Linked DNA regions of Homo sapiens: all the other regions are linked to region 1. Evidence: promoter capture Hi-C in 16 types of primary human blood cells and fetal thymus (Javierre and others, 2016). All regions are on one chromosome and are shown on one strand. Each heading gives the region's core, a stretch centred on a gene start or on the middle of the fragment in contact. The rest is flanking DNA. Distances are from core to core; before and after follow the strand shown.

Evidence for each region. The method cuts DNA at HindIII sites, captures the fragments that hold promoters and counts their contacts. A CHiCAGO score of 5 or more calls a contact.
Region 2: a contact is called between the fragment with the promoter of YWHAG here and the fragment with the promoter of RSBN1L in region 1, in 4 of 17 cell types (total CD4 T cells, monocytes, naive CD8 T cells and 1 more). The highest score is 10.2, in total CD4 T cells.
Region 3: a contact is called between a fragment that was not itself captured here and the fragment with the promoter of RSBN1L in region 1, in 2 of 17 cell types (fetal thymus and neutrophils). The highest score is 5.1, in fetal thymus.

Annotation. Positions count from the first base shown.
Region 1 is chr7:77,695,060-77,698,417 of GRCh38, forward strand. RSBN1L (round spermatid basic protein 1 like) reads left to right here and starts at 1,400. Exons shown (of 8, transcript NM_198467.3): 1 at 1,400-1,996. The coding sequence starts at 1,411. APTR (Alu-mediated CDKN1A/p21 transcriptional regulator) reads right to left here and starts at 1,206. Exons shown (of 2, transcript NR_134254.1): 1 at 837-1,206. RefSeq lists enhancers at 495-1,390, 1,391-2,286, 1,471-1,700 and silencers at 1,221-1,440, 1,911-2,230, 2,521-2,620. The HindIII fragment of the contact is 2,163 bases long and covers 749-2,911 here.
Region 2 is chr7:76,357,260-76,360,477 of GRCh38, forward strand. YWHAG (tyrosine 3-monooxygenase/tryptophan 5-monooxygenase activation protein gamma) reads right to left here and starts at 1,732. Exons shown (of 2, transcript NM_012479.4): 1 at 1,463-1,732. The coding sequence starts at 1,549. RefSeq lists silencers at 863-1,053, 1,137-1,336, 1,657-2,066 and an enhancer at 1,161-1,807. The HindIII fragment of the contact is 9,671 bases long and covers 1-3,218 here.
Region 3 is chr7:76,319,540-76,323,003 of GRCh38, forward strand. It overlaps FPASL (fibroblast proliferation associated lncRNA), which reads left to right. Exons shown (of 2, transcript NR_186616.1): 1 at 1-908; 2 at 2,180-2,747. Among named protein-coding and RNA genes, the nearest start is that of FPASL, 3.0 kb to the left of the region's middle. The HindIII fragment of the contact is 7,938 bases long and covers 1-3,464 here.

The DNA of each region.
Region 1 (3,358 bases), core at 150-2,649:
TCGCCAACGAATTTTTCCTGGCAAGTCTACGTTATAATAATAATAATATTATTATTATTATTATTATTTTTTGAGACGGAGTCTTGCCCTGTCGCCCAAGCTGGAGTGCAGTGGCGCAGTCTCGGCTCACTGCAACCTCCGCCTCCTGGGTTCAAGCGATTCTCCTGCCCCAGCCTCCCCAGTAGCTGGGATTACAGGTGCGCGCTTCCATGCCCAGCTAATTTTTGCATTTTTAGTAGAGACGGGGTTTCACCATGTTGGTCAGGCTGGTCTCGAACTTCTGACCTCGTGATCCGCCCGCCCCGGTCTCCCAAAGTGCTGGGATTACAGGTGTGAGCCACCGCGCCCGGCTATAATAATTATTATAAAATTCAAATCTTAAGGCCGCACATGGTGGCTCACGCCTGTAATCCCAGCACTTTGGGAAGCGGAGGTGGGCCGCTCACCTGAGATCAGGAGTTCGAGTCCAGCCTGGCCAACATGGTGAAACCCCGTCTCTAATAAACACAAAAATTAGCCAAGCATGGTGCCGGACGCCTGTAGTCCCTGTTACTGGGGAGGCTGAGGCAGGAGAATCGCTTGAATCTGGGAGGCGGAGGTTGCGGTGAGCCGAGATCGCGCCACGGCACTCCAGCCTCGACAACAGAGCAAAACTCCGTCCCAATAAATAAATAAATAAATAAAATAAAAATCTTAAGGGTCTAGTCACAACAGTTCAAAAGTCTCCAAAGGGAGACTCTCACCTTCAAGCTTGTAAGTAATACTAAAGTTCTAGATTTGCTGGAAGTTATCTCCTTCAATGGATTACAGCACATGATCTAGCAATAATAACGTACCTTGTCACCACATCGAATGATTTTGAACACTTCCCATCAATCGACTACCGACTAACAAAAAGAAGGACTTGATTCCCGGCAATTTTTTCTCTTCTGAACTGAGCATTCCCGAAATCCAGCTTGCTGAACGCGCAGATGCAGGGTGAGAGGCACCCCAGGAAAAATGGAAGGGAAAGTGGTACAAGTTAAAACAGTCTTCGTGGCCGCAGAGACGATCGCTACCTCGGCCATGGCAGATCTGGGGGTCCGGGGCGGGGGTTCTTCCCTGATACCCACCGGGCACGCGAGTTCACGCCAGCGACAGTGGAAAGCCCTCCCCTCGCAGCGCGCTCCGCCACTAGCCGCACCCCGCCGAGCTCTGACCTCCGAAGAGGGTCCCTGTGGCGATCCCGCCCCTTCGTCTGATGTTTGTGCCTTTGATTGGCTCTTAGGTGGATCCCTCAGCGTGGCTTGCCCAATGGAGCAATGCCGGCTGGTGGCCTGGCCGCTCCGCCCCTTCCCTACCCCTCGCGGAGGGCCCGCCCCCTGCCCCGCGCCGGCTAGCGGAGGAGAGTAAATACAACAGGAGCGCAAAATGGCGGAACCGCCGAGCCCCGTGCACTGTGTCGCTGCCGCGGCCCCCACCGCCACCGTCTCGGAGAAAGAACCGTTTGGCAAGCTGCAACTCTCCTCCCGGGACCCTCCGGGTTCTCTGTCCGCCAAGAAGGTCCGGACTGAGGAGAAGAAGGCACCGCGGAGAGTGAACGGAGAAGGGGGCAGCGGCGGGAACAGCAGGCAGCTGCAGCCGCCGGCAGCACCTTCGCCTCAGAGCTATGGCAGCCCCGCGTCTTGGAGCTTTGCCCCTCTGTCTGCTGCTCCCTCCCCGTCCTCTTCTCGGAGCAGTTTCTCTTTCTCCGCTGGCACGGCCGTTCCCTCCTCAGCCTCCGCTTCCTTGTCTCAGCCGGTGCCGCGCAAACTGCTGGTCCCTCCTACGCTGCTGCACGCTCAGCCTCACCATCTCCTCCTGCCCGCCGCCGCCGCCGCTGCCTCGGCTAACGCCAAGTCGCGCAGACCTAAGGAGAAGCGGGAGAAGGAGAGGAGGAGGCACGGTCTCGGTGGGGCCCGAGAGGCCGGCGGGGCCTCCCGGGAGGAGAACGGGGAGGTGAAGCCGCTGCCCCGAGGTGGGTGCCGTGCGGGGAGGGGGAGGGGAGGGCGCCGTGGGTCCCCGCCGCCCCCTGGCGCCCACGGGGCCCGGGAAGGGGGAGCGCGGCGGCCGCGTGCGCCGGCCTGGAGGGGCTGGGAGGCGTCCGGTTTTCAGCAGAGGATTTTGCAGTTCCCAAGGGGACAGGAAATGGAGCCTGTAATTTCGGTTGCAGAGAGGGGGATGGCCGACACTCTTATTTTCTGTATCGTTTCTTCCTCCCAGTTAGTGCGCTGCAGGATTTGTGAAAATCCATCTTGAGGACTCTCCTAGGTTTGTTTGGCTAGGGAGAGAGATGGAGGGAACGGGATGGGGGAAGGGTTTGGTTTTGTAAAAGATGCTTGATTGATTGTTAGACCACTTAGACGTGGTCGCGGGAATTCGTATTTGTGACACAGCGTTCAACCCCGGATAATCCTGTCAAAAAAGGGGTGTGGAGAGAGCACTGGCGTCAGCTGGAAGCTACCAGAGGCCTGAGCTTTTCATCCCTATTAGGGAAATGAGGTAGCGTGCAGGGCCCGAAGTGCGCTGTTTCGTAAGGTACCCTCCCTGCACCCTACTCTCCGCTGCGTATTCTTAAGTGTTTTGGGTGGTCCTGTTTGAAATACCACCCTTCTGAAAGAATTTTCAGCCATATTCTTTTTTTCCCTGCAGCAAATGATAAAACCAGGAGCTTTGACGATTTTTCGCCAGATCAAGCGGCTGCAGAATGTTTGAGCATTAGAAAAAGGCGAATTCTTAAGGGTTCTTGTCAGACAGGGTCAGTTTTGTTTTTAAATGTAGGCTAGTCGTATAATTTTTCAGGTGTTTCCACCACTTCAGCTACGGATACACAATGATCTGACAATAGTGCAACATACGGACTAGTTGAAAATCAAATCTTTATGTGATCGCAAGCTTAAAGCGCATAATCTTTATTATAAATGTGCACTGCTACACAGTGTTGTCAAATAACTCTTTTTGTTTTTTAGAAAAAGAAATGTCAAGCAGTTTCAGCATTGCTGATCTAACAGTAGCTCAGATCATGAAAAATTCTGTTTGGATTATAATGGTTTGTTTTCACAACTTAAAACATGCTGCATGTGCATGTAGCAATAGTGTCACTTCTTCCTTGATATTTTTTGCCTGTAGCAAAGCTTTAACATCTAAGCATAGCCATCAGGGACTCTGGTGCAATGTAAATATCTTTCAGCTTCTGGGAGTGTTGTTTCTAGGAAAGTGGTTTTGAGGATGGGATTTTGGTACTTTTAGTCAGGAATTCCAGGTGATTAGTATTTTAAAGCTATTTTGTTTTAACAATTTATATGTAAAATTTAGGAGATAAGTGCCTGGAAGTTTGTCC
Region 2 (3,218 bases), core at 482-2,981, 1.3 Mb before region 1:
TCAGCATTGTCCTCTTTTGAGAACCAGTAAATTTATTCAAGAATTGATCTGTAATATCAATAATGCTTCATTTAAAAGATGTAACACGCAAGGTACACTCCAGCATCCACTTCACAATGGAGATGAATTTGAAAATCTTTGTTACATAAGGCAGGAAATTAAATATTAAGATAGTGGGGGCCCGAAATCATTAGATTAATTTTCTACCTTTCATTTCATAATGCTCAATACTTCCCCCTCCTCTAATATCAAACTGGTTGACAGCCCATTAGATAAATGTGGTGTTACTGACAAAATGGTGCAATACAGGGATGAATCTGCAACCCAGACAAAATGCGACAACTGGCGATCGGTATTCTCTTTTCATCAGCATGAAGATGTACTCGCTTAAACAAAAAAAAGCCTCAGATGCATCTAACAACCAAAAATTTTTAAAAAGACTTTTTCCCCTTTAAAATAACTCCTCCCAGCCTCCACCCAGTCTAGGCTCTCTGCAATATGACAAATGCAGAATCTTCTGGAATGACTTGATACTGCCTCTCACCACGGCTTTGTTTGCACTATCAGATCAGACAGAATATTTTTTCCCCCAACTTATAGGAATTTCAACAGACGCGTGCCTGTATTCAAAAAAGAAACGGCATATGTCACACGAATCGAACCAGTCAGCTACATTCACCACCTTTTAATTTTACAGGCAATACCTACCCTTTTCAATACAAAAACATTAGGGAATAAAATGGAGATGACATGTTGAGAATGATCAATGAAAACGCTAGCGAGACAAACGTTCTCCCTTCCTAAAAGCCGGAGGACTTGCTTTGGGCGAATGGAGAAAGAAGAGCCTTTTGTTAAGAAAAACGTGAGCAAGGTGGTTTCGATTTTGCACCACGGAGCTCAGGTTTTCAAGAGACCCTATACAATGTTTCTGGGAAGATTCTCAGGGATGTGTCGGGACAGACAGTGGGGAAGATTCTGGGGGGGCTGGGGAGGTGGAAAACCGGGAGACCTGCTGAGTGAATGGGAAAGGCGCCGCCCAGACACCAGGGAGAGAAAGAGGAACCGCATCCATGCGGTCCCCCGCCCCCACGCCCAGGCTAGGAGGAGGGGGGAAGTGGGGCACAAAGGATGCGCACGCCTCCCCGCTCGGGTCCCCTGCACCCCTAGAGCCGCGGGGGCCGGAGACCCCGCTCCCAAGTCCAGCCCCGCGGGACCTCGCCCCGGCCCGCGCCCGCGCCGGGCCTGAATGGCAGCGCCGCGGGGCCACGGGGACTCCGAAAAGAGGCCGCGTCACAGCCCGGGTTCCCGTCGCCTCTCGGGACCCTCCCCAGCCCCCCTCAGTGAGCGAGACGGGGCGGTCAACCCGCCATCGCGACAGGGCGACGAAGCCCCGGGCCTTCCACGCCAAGGACCGCGTCTTCGGAGGGGCAGGGAGCGGCGGGGGAGGGGAGGAGACACTCACGTTCTTCATGGCCGCGGCCATGTCGTCGTAGCGCTCCGCCTGCTCGGCCAGCCGGGCTTTCTGCACCAGTTGCTCGCGGTCCACCATCTTCGCGGGGCTGGGTCTGGCCGGAGAAGGAGGAGGACACTGGGGCGGCCTGAAGGGCTTGGAGGGCGCGACTGGAGCCCAAGTGCCGGAGAGGACCGACCCACAGAGCGAGCAGCTGAGGCGGCGGCTGCGCGGAGGAGGCGGCTGGAGCTGCGACCGCGGGACCGGGCGCGAGGCGGCTGCGGCTGCTGTGCGTGCCACTGACGGACAACCCCCTGCGGCCCCGCCCACGCCGCATGACGAAGGCAGGCCCCGCCCACCCGTCCGCAAGCCCCGCCCATGCCCCGCCCGAGCCCGGCCGCGGCTAGAACTCCCCGCTCCCCAGCTGGGCTCACTGCGCGTCTTCCGGGCACCCCGTCCTTTCCCACTGCGCCCCCACTCTCCCCTTTTTTCACTTCACTCCCCAGTTCCCTCACCCCAGCTTCTCCAGTCGCCCCCTTACGCCTCCCCCTTGAGCCTCCCGCCCCGCCAGCCCTCGGACGCATGGGCCCCTGGGAGTTGTAGTGTAACCTGCAGTGCACTGAGGCGCTGAGGAGACCAAGGACAAAGGGGCGGTCAAGACTACAACTCCCAGCGGACATAGCGCGCAGGCGCAGGAGGACGGGGGGGGGTGCTTCGAATCCCGAGGCCGCTGGGGACCCCTGGCGGGGATCAGGGCTGCATCAGTCCCTGCGAGTGCTGATTCACCGCCCCGCCCCATATTCTCCGGGAAATTACGAGAGGAGGGGGCAGGGGCCTCAGTCCTAGACCCTGTTTCCGAGATCACGTAGCAGGTCGTGGTGGGGGAAGGACAGGAGGCGCGTCCATTGTAGATCCAGACTCTCAGTGTGGTGCCTGCCCGCGGGATGGCCGAATTAAGGGGCCAGACCCTGGGGACTGTCACCTCCACCCCCTACGAGCTTCCATTAAACCCCCCACCCCACCTTGAGGCTCTTGGGCCTGAATAGGTGAAAACATGGACGAACGACAAATACCGGCTGGCCACAGTGGTTGATTTCCAGAAAGGATGCAGCTGTCTGCTGGCTGACCCTGGAGAACCCCTTCTTCCTCTCCAGGGTGGAGTGCTAAAGATTGAGTTCAGCTACCAGGAGCCTACTCCACATCTAACTGGGCTGCGTCTAGGGCTTGGTTGTCCAGCCCTTCTCTCCCCTCCTAAGACATACATACCTACTGAGGTCACGCTGATATATTCTCGTTCATATTATTCCACATAGCTTGCAGATAGCATGGGTTTTTTTGCTTTGTTTTGCTTTTTTGTAGAGACGGGGGTCTAGCTTTGTTGCCCATGCTGGTCTCGAACTCCTGGGCTCAAGCGATCCTCACGCCTCGGCCTCCCAAGGTGCTGGGATTACAGATGTGAGCCACCATGCCTGCAGGCCTGATAGTTTTGACTGCACATTTTATTTACTTTATGTATTCAACAATTATCTATGAGAAGCTACTGTGTTCCAAGCCCTATTCTAAGCCACGAGGTACAGTAGTGAACAAAACAGACAAAAATCCCTGCCCAAGAAAATAGGTGAGATATGTACAGTATGCTAGAAGTCAGTAAGGAGTGAGTTTTGAGGTTGCAGTGAGCTGAGATTGCGCCACTGCACTCCAGTCTGGCGACAGAGCAAGACTCCGTTTCAAAAACAAATAATAAAATAAAAAGTTTTTTAAAGGCTGG
Region 3 (3,464 bases), core at 72-2,571, 1.4 Mb before region 1:
AGCCTGGTCAACAGAGCGAGATCCTGTCTCAAAACAAAACAAAAAAACTGACAACCAATGAAACCTCATCTCTAAAATCTGGCTTCAGGTTAAGTGAGTAAAAAGAGGCTTTCTTGTGGCCAGGCACGGTGGCTTATGCCTGGTAATCCCAGCACTTTGGGAGGCCAAGGCGGGCGGATCACGAGGTCAGGAGTTCAAGACCAGCCTGGCCAACATAGTGAAACCCTGTTTCTACTAAAAATACAAAAAAATTAGCCAGGCATGGTGGTGGATGCCTGTAATCCCAGCTACTCGGGAGGCTGAGGCAGGAGAATCAACGTGAACCCAGGAGGCGGAGGTTGCAGTGAGCTGGTATCACGCCATTGCACTCCAACCCCGGGCAATAGTGCGAGACTCCGTCTCAAAAAAAAAAAAGGCTTTCATTTATCTTCTCAGCTCCTACAAGCCAATGAGTGGTAGGGTAATTTGCCGACCACAGTGGGAAGAACTAATTTAACACCAAGATTGTGATTCCCCTAGTGTAGATCCAGTATGAAAGAAGTGTCTCAGGCATGCTTCTGGTTCCTGAGTTAACTCTAGTGAATAAGGTGGGCTGTGCTGTCTCCCCACCTCCCCCAGGCATAGGGGCAGAACAGCTGCAGACCACCAGGACCCAGTGGGCCAAGTGAGGATGTGAGTCAAAGCCAGTGCTTATTAAACCACCTAATACTGTACTTTTCCCATCCAGGGGAGGCAGGAGAGGATTGAGGAGGCAAATCCCCGAGCCCAGAAGACTCCAGTCAGAAAACAAGATGGTCCCCATGGGTAGTGGCCAATCCCTCTGGCCTTTCAGAGCAGTGGCTTTGGCCTTGTCCGCTTAGGTAACAGGCTCTGCTGCTGGTAGTTGCTTAAGAGCACAGAGTAGCCGGGCGTGGTGGCTCACGCCTGTAATCCCAGCACTTTGGGAGGCCGAGGTGGGTGGATCACAAGGTCAGGAGATCGAGACCATCCTGGCTAACATGGTGCAATCCCGTCTCTACTAAAAATACAAAAAATTAGCCGAGCGTGGTGGTGGGTGCCTGTAGTCCCAGCTACTTGGGAGGCTGAGGCAGGAGAATGGTGTGAACCCAGGAGGCGGAGCTTGCCGAGAGCCAAGATCGCACCACTGCACTCCAGCCTGGGTGACACAGCGAGACTCCATCTCAAAAAAAAAACAAAAAAAAAAAAACACAGAGTGAACCAGTGAGAAGGTTAAATGGAGGAGAAAGCAAAGTTCTTAAGACAAAAAAAGTACCCCAACAAGGGCAGGAAACAAGCTAAATGACATAGGCACAGACAACTGGACAAACCCAGAACGTGGGGCCTTGAGACTGTCAAGTAGCCTGGTCTCAAGCCATTATCAGGCCCAGGCGTGGTGGCTCATGCCCATTAATTCTAACACTTTGGGAGGCCAAGGTGAGAGGATCACTTGAGGCCAGAAATTCAGGAACAGCCTAGACAACATACCCATCTTTACAAAAAATAAAAATAGATTTATTGGAAGGCCATGTTGAAAAAAAAAAAAGAAAAAAATTAGCCGGAAGTGGTAGTGCAGCCCTGTGGTCCCAGCTACTCGGGAGACTGAGTTGGGAGGACTGTTTGAGTCCATGAGTTGGAGGCTGCAGTGAGCTCTGATTGTCCAAAGCACTCCAACCAGGGCAACTGAGACCCTGTCTCTTAAAAAAAAAAAAAAATAGGCAAAGAAATCTAATATTGAAATGCAATTAATGAATTTTAATTGGAGTCTAGGTGGTGCGGGAGGGGGATTGGAAAAAGCTATCAAATGCATTCTGAGGACAATTTGGAGAAATTTGCATATGGGCTGATATTAGGGAATTATTAATTGGGTGATAACAGTATGGCGGTTATATTAGAGAATGTCCTTTTTTTTTTTTTTTTTTGAGACAGGGTCTCACGGTTGCCCAGGTTGGAGTGCAGTGGCGTGATGTCAGCTCACTGCAACCTCTGCCTCCTGGGTTTAAGCAATTCTTGTGTCTCAGCTTCCCAAGTAGCTGGGACTACAGGCACGAGCCACCACACCCAGTTAATTTTTTTGTATTTTTAGCAGAGACAGGGTTTCGCCATGTTGGCCAGGCTGGTCTCGAACTGCTGACCTCAGGTGATCCGCCCGCCTCGGCCTCCCAAAGTGGTGGGATTACAGGCGTGAGCCACTGCGCCTGGCCGAGAATGTCCTTTTTGTAAGGAGAAATATGAACATTGGGAGTAAAATGCCAACAGTGACTTTCAAGGTTCCACAACCCATAGAGGAATTTATCTGCCATATCAAGGAGTGGGTCTGTAGCCAATCACTGTAACGTTCTTTTCAATTTTTGTGTTTGGGATTCAAGTGCCCCAATACCACCTAACTACCCTTTAAATGGAATTAAATATTCTAATTCAAGATATCTGTTTTGGGACCACCAAATTTCAACTATCTATATTTAAAATCACAAGGCCAGAGTCACATCAGTGCTCAAAGGCAGCAAAAATCCTATTTCAAGCTCAACCAAATTAGAAGAATGGATGGCAGTAGTTACCTCTAAGAATGGCAATTAATGGGTGATCAGGTAATGGGCATGCTGGGAAGAGTTTCTGATAAACCAGGGGTCTGCAAACTACTGGCCAGAGGGTAAATATGTCAAGCATTGTGGGCTGTATACGGCCGCCTCACACTTTTGTAACGTGTGTGCACTGCCAATTCAAAAAATAAAAACCAGCTGGGCACAGTGGCTCATGTCTGTAATCCCAGCACTTTGGGAGGCTGAGATGGGAGGATTGCCTGAGGCCAGGAGTTCAAGACCAGCCTGGGCAGTATAGCAAGACCTCAATTCTACAAACAATCCAAAAATTAGCCAGGTGTGTGTGGTGGTGGTACGCACCTATGGTCCCGGCGACTCAGAAGGCTGAGATAGGAGGATCATTTGAGCCCAGGAGGTAGAAGCTGCAGTGAGTTGTGATCATGCCACTGCATTCCAGCCTGTGCAAGAGTGAGATTCTGTCTTTCCAAAAAAAAAAAAAAAAGGCCCCAAGTCATAGTGTTCCTCAAATTCCTACGGCCTTTCCTCTCCAATACTCTGGATAACAGGATAACAGAGTGCCACGTGAGTCCCTTACATAACCTGAGATGTCTTGACTCATTGTCTTGCCAGTGTGATCCAGCTACTCTCACCCTAACTCCTCACTGACCACAGCGCTGTGTGGTTAATGAGAGGTACAGCTTGTGGCCATTCAGATTCAACCACGTTTATCCACATCAGAGTTGGAAAATTCAAACCAGTGGGCTAATTAGCAAGCTGGTATGCCACATGTTAATGTTCTGATTAGGCTGGTGACCACTGATTGTCAACTCCTAGAACAGGGTTACCCAGCTAGTGCTCAGAAGGTTGTTTCTCTGAGTAGGCTTTGGGAACTGTGCACCCAGGAGGGAGGTGCCATTCTTAGCCACT